Linked DNA regions of Homo sapiens: region 2 is linked to region 1. The links are contacts of gene promoters, found by promoter capture Hi-C in blood cells and fetal thymus (Javierre and others, 2016). All regions are on one chromosome and are shown on one strand. Each heading gives the region's core, a stretch centred on a gene start or on the middle of the fragment in contact. The rest is flanking DNA. Distances are from core to core; before and after follow the strand shown. Region 1 holds the start of METTL6 (methyltransferase 6, tRNA N3-cytidine). Region 2 overlaps SH3BP5 (SH3 domain binding protein 5).

Region 1 (3,558 bases), core at 737-3,236:
TAAGTTGCTTTTTTAGGGTTGTGAGGATCAAAAGTAACAGCATATGAAACAGATTCTGTGACTGTAAACTCTATATGAAATATGAAAGGCCACAGCATCATCAAAAGCTGATTTCATTCCGCATAGAAACTGTCAAAATTAGGATTTGCCATACTCAAGTTCCATAGCTGTTTTTTGTTTTTTTTTTTTTTTAATAGTGATGGGGTCTCACTATGCTGCCCAGGCTGGTCTCAAACTCCTGGGCTCAAGCTATCTGTCGACCTCGGCCTCCCAAAGTACTGGGATTATAGTGTCAGCCACCACTCTCAGCCAGTTCCACAGCTTTAACAAAGACACTTCGTAGATGTTCATAGCAGACAACTGAACTGTATCTCCGCAAGTTATCCTGCTCGTGTTTCTAAACTGCAGTTAGAATACAACATAATAGCCATCTTAATTCACATTCACACCTGCCTCAAACTGCAGGACAGGTGCACACATGAACTATATGATTTAAATTCCACATTGCCCTTCACCAAAAGAAAACATCAACTTAGTAAACTCTTCAGGAAATGATGTTCTTATCTTATTCCCATCTCTTCTCTCTGAAAGAGCTGGATCTGCTGTCAGTAGGAAGCATAGCAATGGCATGGCAAGTGACTACACAAAGATGGGATTTCATTATCTAAAACGCCCTCTTCACATGTGTTGAGTCACATCTATTAGGTCCTCTGACAAAAACAAGTCTTAACAACAGCGTTAGCACCACGGAAACCAGAAGTTCATGAATCACGGAGGGATGCTCTGTCAGCCAATTCCTAACTGCCAAACCTTCACCCAGGACATAGGGTGGAAGTGCACTCTCTCAACAGCGTCTATAATTATGTAGAAAAAGGTCCGGCATAATGACTATTTGGACATTCCTTACGCCTGCTCTCTTCTGCTTCCAAACGTAGACCAATCTTTAACCTATCCCAGGCTCACGAACTCTGATTTGACTCTTTACCCACAAGGAACTTGGTCTGGAGGAAAAGCCCGGGTGGTATAGGTGACCTCAAAAGACATCCAAGTCAAATGAAGCACAGAAAGGAGATGGAAGAAGACTCTGATGAGGCGCAGAGAGGATGCCAATTCTTTGGCTGTAGAGGGGACAAAGCACAGTATTTGGGAGTCCAGGACCAAGTCGGAGGAGAAAAGCAGGGAAGAGAATGGGTTCTAAGGCAGTGGATGAGGCTCATAACAAACAAGAAGCGTCTTTTAAATGTGGAGAACCCTGATGGGAGCATCGGAAAGGAGGGGAGGGGTTTCGAGGGAGAAGTGGACCCGGATAAGAGGGGGGAGGTTTGCCTTGGGGGAGGGAGGTTTGCCTTAGGGGCGAGGTTGGGGGCGGGGAGGGATGGAAATGGAAAGAGGCCAAAGACCTTTGGAACTAGTGTTTGAGACTGTGAGGTAGAAGAATAGTAGGGAGTGACGAAGATTTGGGAGAAATAATCTGGGTAAAAGAAGGGACAAATCGATGTCCCAAAGGATTTGGGGTTCGAGAGAAAGTAACTGACGCTGGCAGGGGGTTCCCTGGAATCTGAAGGGCCGAGGGAAGAAAGGAAGGAGTCAAGGTTGATATGTGGCGGCTGGAGCGGCCGAAGGGAACCGTGGGGAGCGCTGACTTACAACGAATAGTGTGGAAGGAGGCCCGCGGCCGCTTCTCGAAGCTCTCCCCGAGCCTCAGGCAATGTTCCTCGCGGTCCAGCAGCGGGTTTGCGGTCCCATTCATGGCCCCGCACCTGCCTCGCACCCAGATCGGCGCTCTCCCGGTGCAGCCGCGATCCGAGCTTCTGGCGCTGGCGTCTGGGAGGACTGTGCTTCCGGGCCACCGCTCTGGAAGACAAGGAGAGCCGAGCCGGCACCCACCCGGGTCCAGAAGCAAGTTCTCTCCTCTGCGTGGGGGTGAGAGAGGAATCTGAGGAGGCAAGGCCGTGGGACTTCCGGCGTCGGGTAGGAACTTCCGGGTTCCTAGCGGAAGTGGCGGGGGCGGTGCCATGGCAAAAGAACTCCCGGATAATCCGAATTCGTGGTCCTCAGAATTGGTTTAGGGTTGTTTCGCGGTTCTTCCCGTATTCTGCCTCCGAGGCCCAGTGGGGCTGGCTGTGGGGTGAGTGCGCCTGGCCCTAGCCCTGCAGGTGAATTTAGGAACTGATGACGGTGAGCCCTGAGCGTGGCTGACTAAATTAACGCGGGTCGGCTAGCCATCATGGACGCCCTCCTCAGGGTCTAGGGGCCCATGCAGCCTAGTCTATCCTGAGGGTCCTGAGATGGATCCTCGGGACCTCAGCCACGCGTCATTGGGTCTCTTTCTCCACTTTGCCCGGTGATGGCGGTGCGAGGGTCTCAGTCCCTGCAAAGTGACGCTCCCTCTGGTTCCTATGACAGCCTCTTGTGAGTGTGATCAGGAAATGAGCCCACCCAGGCTTAGCTTCATTTCCCCCGAAAAAACGGAGGTCCGACCCTTGGGAAACGATGACCTCACTTGTATCTGACAATTGACCACCCGCTTCCAGCTAAGGCCATTGTGGTTTTTAAGTCACCCCTTTCGCGGGCACCGAAAATTGAGGAATATTTTCTTCGCAAGGTTTCCCAGTCAGTTCTTGAGAGCGTCCTTTTTCGTAAACTAAATCGATTTATTGTAATAGTTGACTCATCTGGTTTGAATAAAAGTATGGTGCATGAGATAGTCTGGCCACTGAAATGAATGTAAGCCCACTGAAGGTAGGGACTGTGTGTTTGTCTTCTTTGTGACCTCTCATATAGCGGGAAGGATTTTTTTTTGTACAGTCTGCATCTCATAAACATTTGGTGAATTGAACCTGGCGTCTTGAACTGTAACCACTAACCAGAATCTAATTCTTTTCTCTGCGAAGCCCCCTGTGCTGTTTGAGGCGTGAAACTCACCTCAGGAAATGTATCTGATCCATTAGCGTGGATTCATATTATTTGGTGATGGAGAATCTTCAGCTGTGTTAAGTGTTACCGTCAGTTTCAGAGATGGCTTCTTTGCAAAGGAAAGGGCTGCAGGCAAGGATTCTCACCTCTGAAGAAGAGGAGAAACTGAAAAGAGACCAAACTTTGGTGTCTGATTTTAAACAGCAGAAATTGGAACAAGAGGCTCAGAAAAATTGGGATCTTTTTTACAAAAGAAATAGCACTAATTTCTTCAAAGACAGACACTGGACCACCAGAGAGTTTGAGGAGCTAAGATCATGTAGAGAGGTAAGCTAATATTACGCCTTATCTGAGCTGTTCTTCATTTAAAATGTGAAGAGGGTGCCATGGCTCATGCCTGTAATCCCAGTACTTGGGGAGGCCAAGGCAGGCGGATCACGAAGTCAAGAGATCGAGACCATCCTGGCCAACATGATGAAACCCCGTCTTTACTAAAAATACAAAAATTAGCTGGGTGTGGTGGTGCTCGCCTGTAGTCCCAGCTACTTGGAAGGCTGAGGCAGGAGAATCGCTTGAACCCGGGAGGCGGAGATAGCAGTGAGCCGAGATTGTGCCACTGCACTCCAGCCTGGTGACAGAACG
Region 2 (4,012 bases), core at 1,273-3,772, 130 kb after region 1:
AAAAGGGAAAAACCTCCCACACTTGATTTTCTTTGAAGAGTTTACAAAGATTTGTAATTTCAGCCTGGGCAACATGGTGAGATCTTGTCTCTATATGAAATAAAAAAAATTTAAAATTAGCTGGATGTAGTGATATGTGCCTGTGGTCCTAGCCCTTAGGAGGCTGAAGCAGGAGGATTGCTTGAGCACAGAAGTTCAAGGCTGCAGTGAGCCATGATGTCTCTCTTGTATTCCAGCCTGGGTGACAGAGCAAGACCCTGACTCAAAAAAAAAAAAAAAAAAAAAAAAAAAATCTAATTGTTGAGCTGGTGGAAATTGTATTGGTTCATTAAAAATTTGCATCGATTTTATTTTTCCTGATATGAGCTCATTTTTCAGCCAATGAGTCAGATCCAGTTCTGTGATCTTGAAAACCAAGTCCAATTTCTGCCAAGCAGAGGTAGAACATGATGTGTGTTTTCTGTGCCAGGTTGGGGGCAGGGCACTGGCTTTGATTTGAGAGTTTTTGTCCTTGAGCCCAAGCTTGTTTTTAAGGCTGCTTTGACATATCTGCCAGTCCATCTGGCCTTCAGCATATGGTAGGGGAGCAGTCTGATGAGGGCGGAGCCCATGTGAATCAATGACGCTGAAAAGCAGGGTGTATCTTGCTTACCTGGCTCCCTGGGTGCTGACTGGTCTAACAGTGGCTTTGGACCTGTCATTTTATCACTATCAGTCCCAACCCTTCTTTTTCTCCTCTTTAAGAAAATTGTGGTAAGGTACATACAACACAAAATGTACCATTTTTACCATTCTTTTTTTTCTTTTTTGCCTCTCCCCCATTTTAACCATTCTTTAAGGATGGCATTAAGGCATTCACATTGTGAATGCACATTCACTTGCTGTGCAACTCTTACCACCATCCATCTCTAGAACCCTTGCATCTTCCCAGACTGAAACTGTACCCATTCAACACTAACTCCCCAATCCTCCCCTCTCCCAAGCTCAGGCAACCATCACTTCTGTTTTCTATTTCTATGAATTTGACTACCCTAGGTACCTCATATAAGTACTGAGGAATCATACAATATTTGTCATTTCGTTACTGGCTTATTTCACTTAGCATAATGTCCTCAACATTCATCCATGTTATAGCATGTGTCAGAATTTCCTTTCACTGAATGTATATACCACGTTTTATTTATCCATTCATCCATGGACATTGGGCAACCCTTGTTATTTTTGAATGGTTGGAATGCGTCAGAAGAGAGCAGAGCACTTTGCAAACTTGATGGGCAGCACAAATGCAAAATAGTGCGGATTATTTAGTGCTGAAAGTTGCCTGTTTTGTGTCTGTGGGGCTATATAAGGCCATGTCTTACATATAACCTCCTTTAGGAAAGGAGATGAGTGGGAAAACATTTGAAACTTGTAGAGTGACTTGTAGGCTCACCTCTTAAAAGCTGTGGGACCTTTGGCAGGTTACCTAATCTCTGTGCCTCATTTTTTTTCATCCATAAAATGGAGTTGGCTAATTGAGGGATCTCAGGCCTGTAATCCCAGCACTTTGGGAGGCCAAGGCGGGAGGACTGCTTGAAGCCAAGAGTTCGAGGCCAGCCTAGGCAATGTAGTGAGACCCAGTCTCTACAAAAAGTAGCCAGGCATGATGGTGCATGCCTGTGGTCCCAGCTACTCAGGAGGCAGAGGCAGGAGGATTGCTTGAGCCCAGGAGTTCCAGAGTGCAGTGAGTTATGATTGTGCTACTGCATTCCATCCTGGAGGACAGGGTGAGACCTTGGCTCTTTAAAAAAAAAAAAAAAAAAGAAAAAGAAAAGTTGTATATCAGTTAGCTTTTGCTATGAAGCCAACCACCCTAAAACTTAATGGCTTAAAACATTTATTTAGCTCATGGTTTTGTTGGCCAGTTTTTCTGATCTCAGGCTTAGAGCTGATCTCTCACATATACAGTCAGTTGATGGATTAGCTGGGGGCTGGCTGACCTTGGCCTTATCTGTCAAGCAGTTGGTTGGTGGTCAGCTAGGGTAGCAGGGGTGACTAGGCCACGTGTATCTTTCATTCACCAGGCTAGCCTGGTCATTTTCATACAGTGTTGAGATTCCAGCAACAAAAAGGGTGAGCCCTTTTCAAGCCTCTGCTTGTTTCATGTTTATTAACATCTTACGGGCTAAAGTCAGTCATGGGGCCAGTCCAAATTCAAGAATTGGGAACGATAAAGTCTACCTGCAACTTATTCTAGCTACTTTTGCAATTTACTACAGCGATTGAATTAGTACATGTAAAGCATTTGGATCCAATAAATGTAAGATTATCCTAGATGTATTTTTCTATCAAATGTTGAGTATCTGGTGAATCTGCTGCCTTGTAATAAAAAAAAGATCACCACCACAAAGAACCTGTGGGTAGAAGAGGAAACAGGCCTCTCCTGGCTGGGAGGGGGCTATGGAAGATAGAGAGATTGTGCCAGGTGGAAGAGTGAGCCCAGGTAGGTTGAGTACATAGTGAGTTATTTGTGAGGGCAGAATGTGCTGGAGGATCGAAAATGATGAGGGAGGGAGTAGCTGACTTACCTTTTGACTGATCAAAAGCACTCTGTGCCCAAAGGGATAGTGTGGCATGGGCCTTGAATGGATGGAGAATCGTGTTTTGAATGAAATGAAATGGGTCGAGCATATCAATTAATCTCCTGAACTATTATGTTAATCCTAGAGGAACAGAGTATTATAGTGATCCTTTGTTGGGAAATTCTAGGCATTGATTTTGTTTGTAGAAAGCCTGCCATGGCCAGGAGTGGTGGCTCATGCCTCTAATCCTGGCATTTTGGGAGATTGAGGTGGGAGGATTGCTTGAGCCCAGGAGTTCAATACCACCCTGGGCAACATGGTGAGACACCATTTCTTTTTTTTTTTTTTTTTTAAGAAGCCAGACATGGTGGTGCTTGCTTATGGTCCTAGCTACTTAGGAGGCTGAGGTAGAAGGATTGCGTGAGCCTGAGAAGTCAAGGCTGCGTGGAGCTGTGATCGCACCACTGCGCTCTAGTCTGGGTGAAAGAGTGAGACCCTGTCTCAAAAAAAAAAAAAAAAAGGAAAAACACTTCGTAAGTGGAGGATGAGAGGCTGATGTTCTGCAAAGGTAGGATATAAACTCAAGGATATGTCAAATGTAGGTTATTACTTTACATGTCTGTGTGGGGATTTAAAAAAATTTATTATTTTCTTTTCTTCGGTAGCTATTGACTGAGCACCTACCATATGCCAGGTATTGTTCTAGCCACTTGTTGACCTATCAAACATAGAACAGAGATCCTGTCCTTGTGGAGCTGACATTCCCCTCATGGCAGTCTTATAAAAGGGTGTGGGATGGGCTGTTTTGAGCAAAAGTAGAATCTTTGTTACTGACCTGGATAGGGGTGTGTGTGTGTGTGTGTGTGTGTGTGTATATGATTTCCCCATTTGAGGTATGGAGTGAGACTGTGGGAGGATTATAGCAGGTCAGGGGATTGGCAAAGAAAAGCATCTCCCCTTTGTCTGCAGTGGCCACTGTGGAGTATACAGTTGGTCTGTATCCTCCAGGAGCCCCATCTTCTTGAAGGTGGTGTTATGGCAGAGGTAAATACAATCAGTTCTCATTATCTGTGGTAGTCATATTCTATAAAGTTGCCACAGACACTGAATTAGCAAGTACCAAGGCTTTGCTCCTAGGGGAAATAGAGGTTAGGTTCCTGAGAGCCTCTGGTCACAACATTTTTGTCAGCTGATCAATACATAACCTTGTTATATGTGTGTTTCTGTTTAAAGACCCCTTATTTAGTGTGTTTCTTACAATCAATTATATGCAATATTTCTTGATAATAAAACACTAGCTGCAAAGGGTTGAATGTTCTCCTGACTCTGGGTGATGTGACTATAAACTTCTTTGGCTCTTAGCCTCATGATGATGCTGTCCACTCTGCTTTTTTAATCTGTCATGACCTCTCAGGCTTAGTGCCAGATAATCCACAAATCCAGCCATGTTT

What was found. Contacts are between HindIII fragments. The CHiCAGO score rates a contact against its expected background, and 5 or more counts as called.
Region 2: a fragment that was not itself captured here is called in contact with the fragment with the promoter of METTL6 in region 1 in 1 of 17 cell types (monocytes); the score reaches 5.1 in monocytes.

What each region holds. Positions count from the first base shown.
Region 1 is chr3:15,425,972-15,429,529 of GRCh38, reverse strand. It overlaps METTL6 (methyltransferase 6, tRNA N3-cytidine), which reads left to right and starts at 1,986. Exons shown (of 6, transcript NM_152396.4): 1 at 1,986-2,128; 2 at 2,895-3,243. The coding sequence starts at 3,019. It overlaps EAF1 (ELL associated factor 1), which reads right to left and starts at 1,932. Exons shown (of 6, transcript NM_033083.7): 1 at 1,648-1,932. The coding sequence starts at 1,750. RefSeq lists an enhancer at 1,576-1,855 and a silencer at 1,852-2,015. The HindIII fragment of the contact is 9,714 bases long and covers 1-3,558 here.
Region 2 is chr3:15,295,764-15,299,775 of GRCh38, reverse strand. The region is part of intron 3 of SH3BP5 (SH3 domain binding protein 5); the gene reads left to right. Among named protein-coding and RNA genes, the nearest start is that of SH3BP5, 35 kb to the left of the region's middle. The HindIII fragment of the contact is 3,996 bases long and covers 525-4,012 here.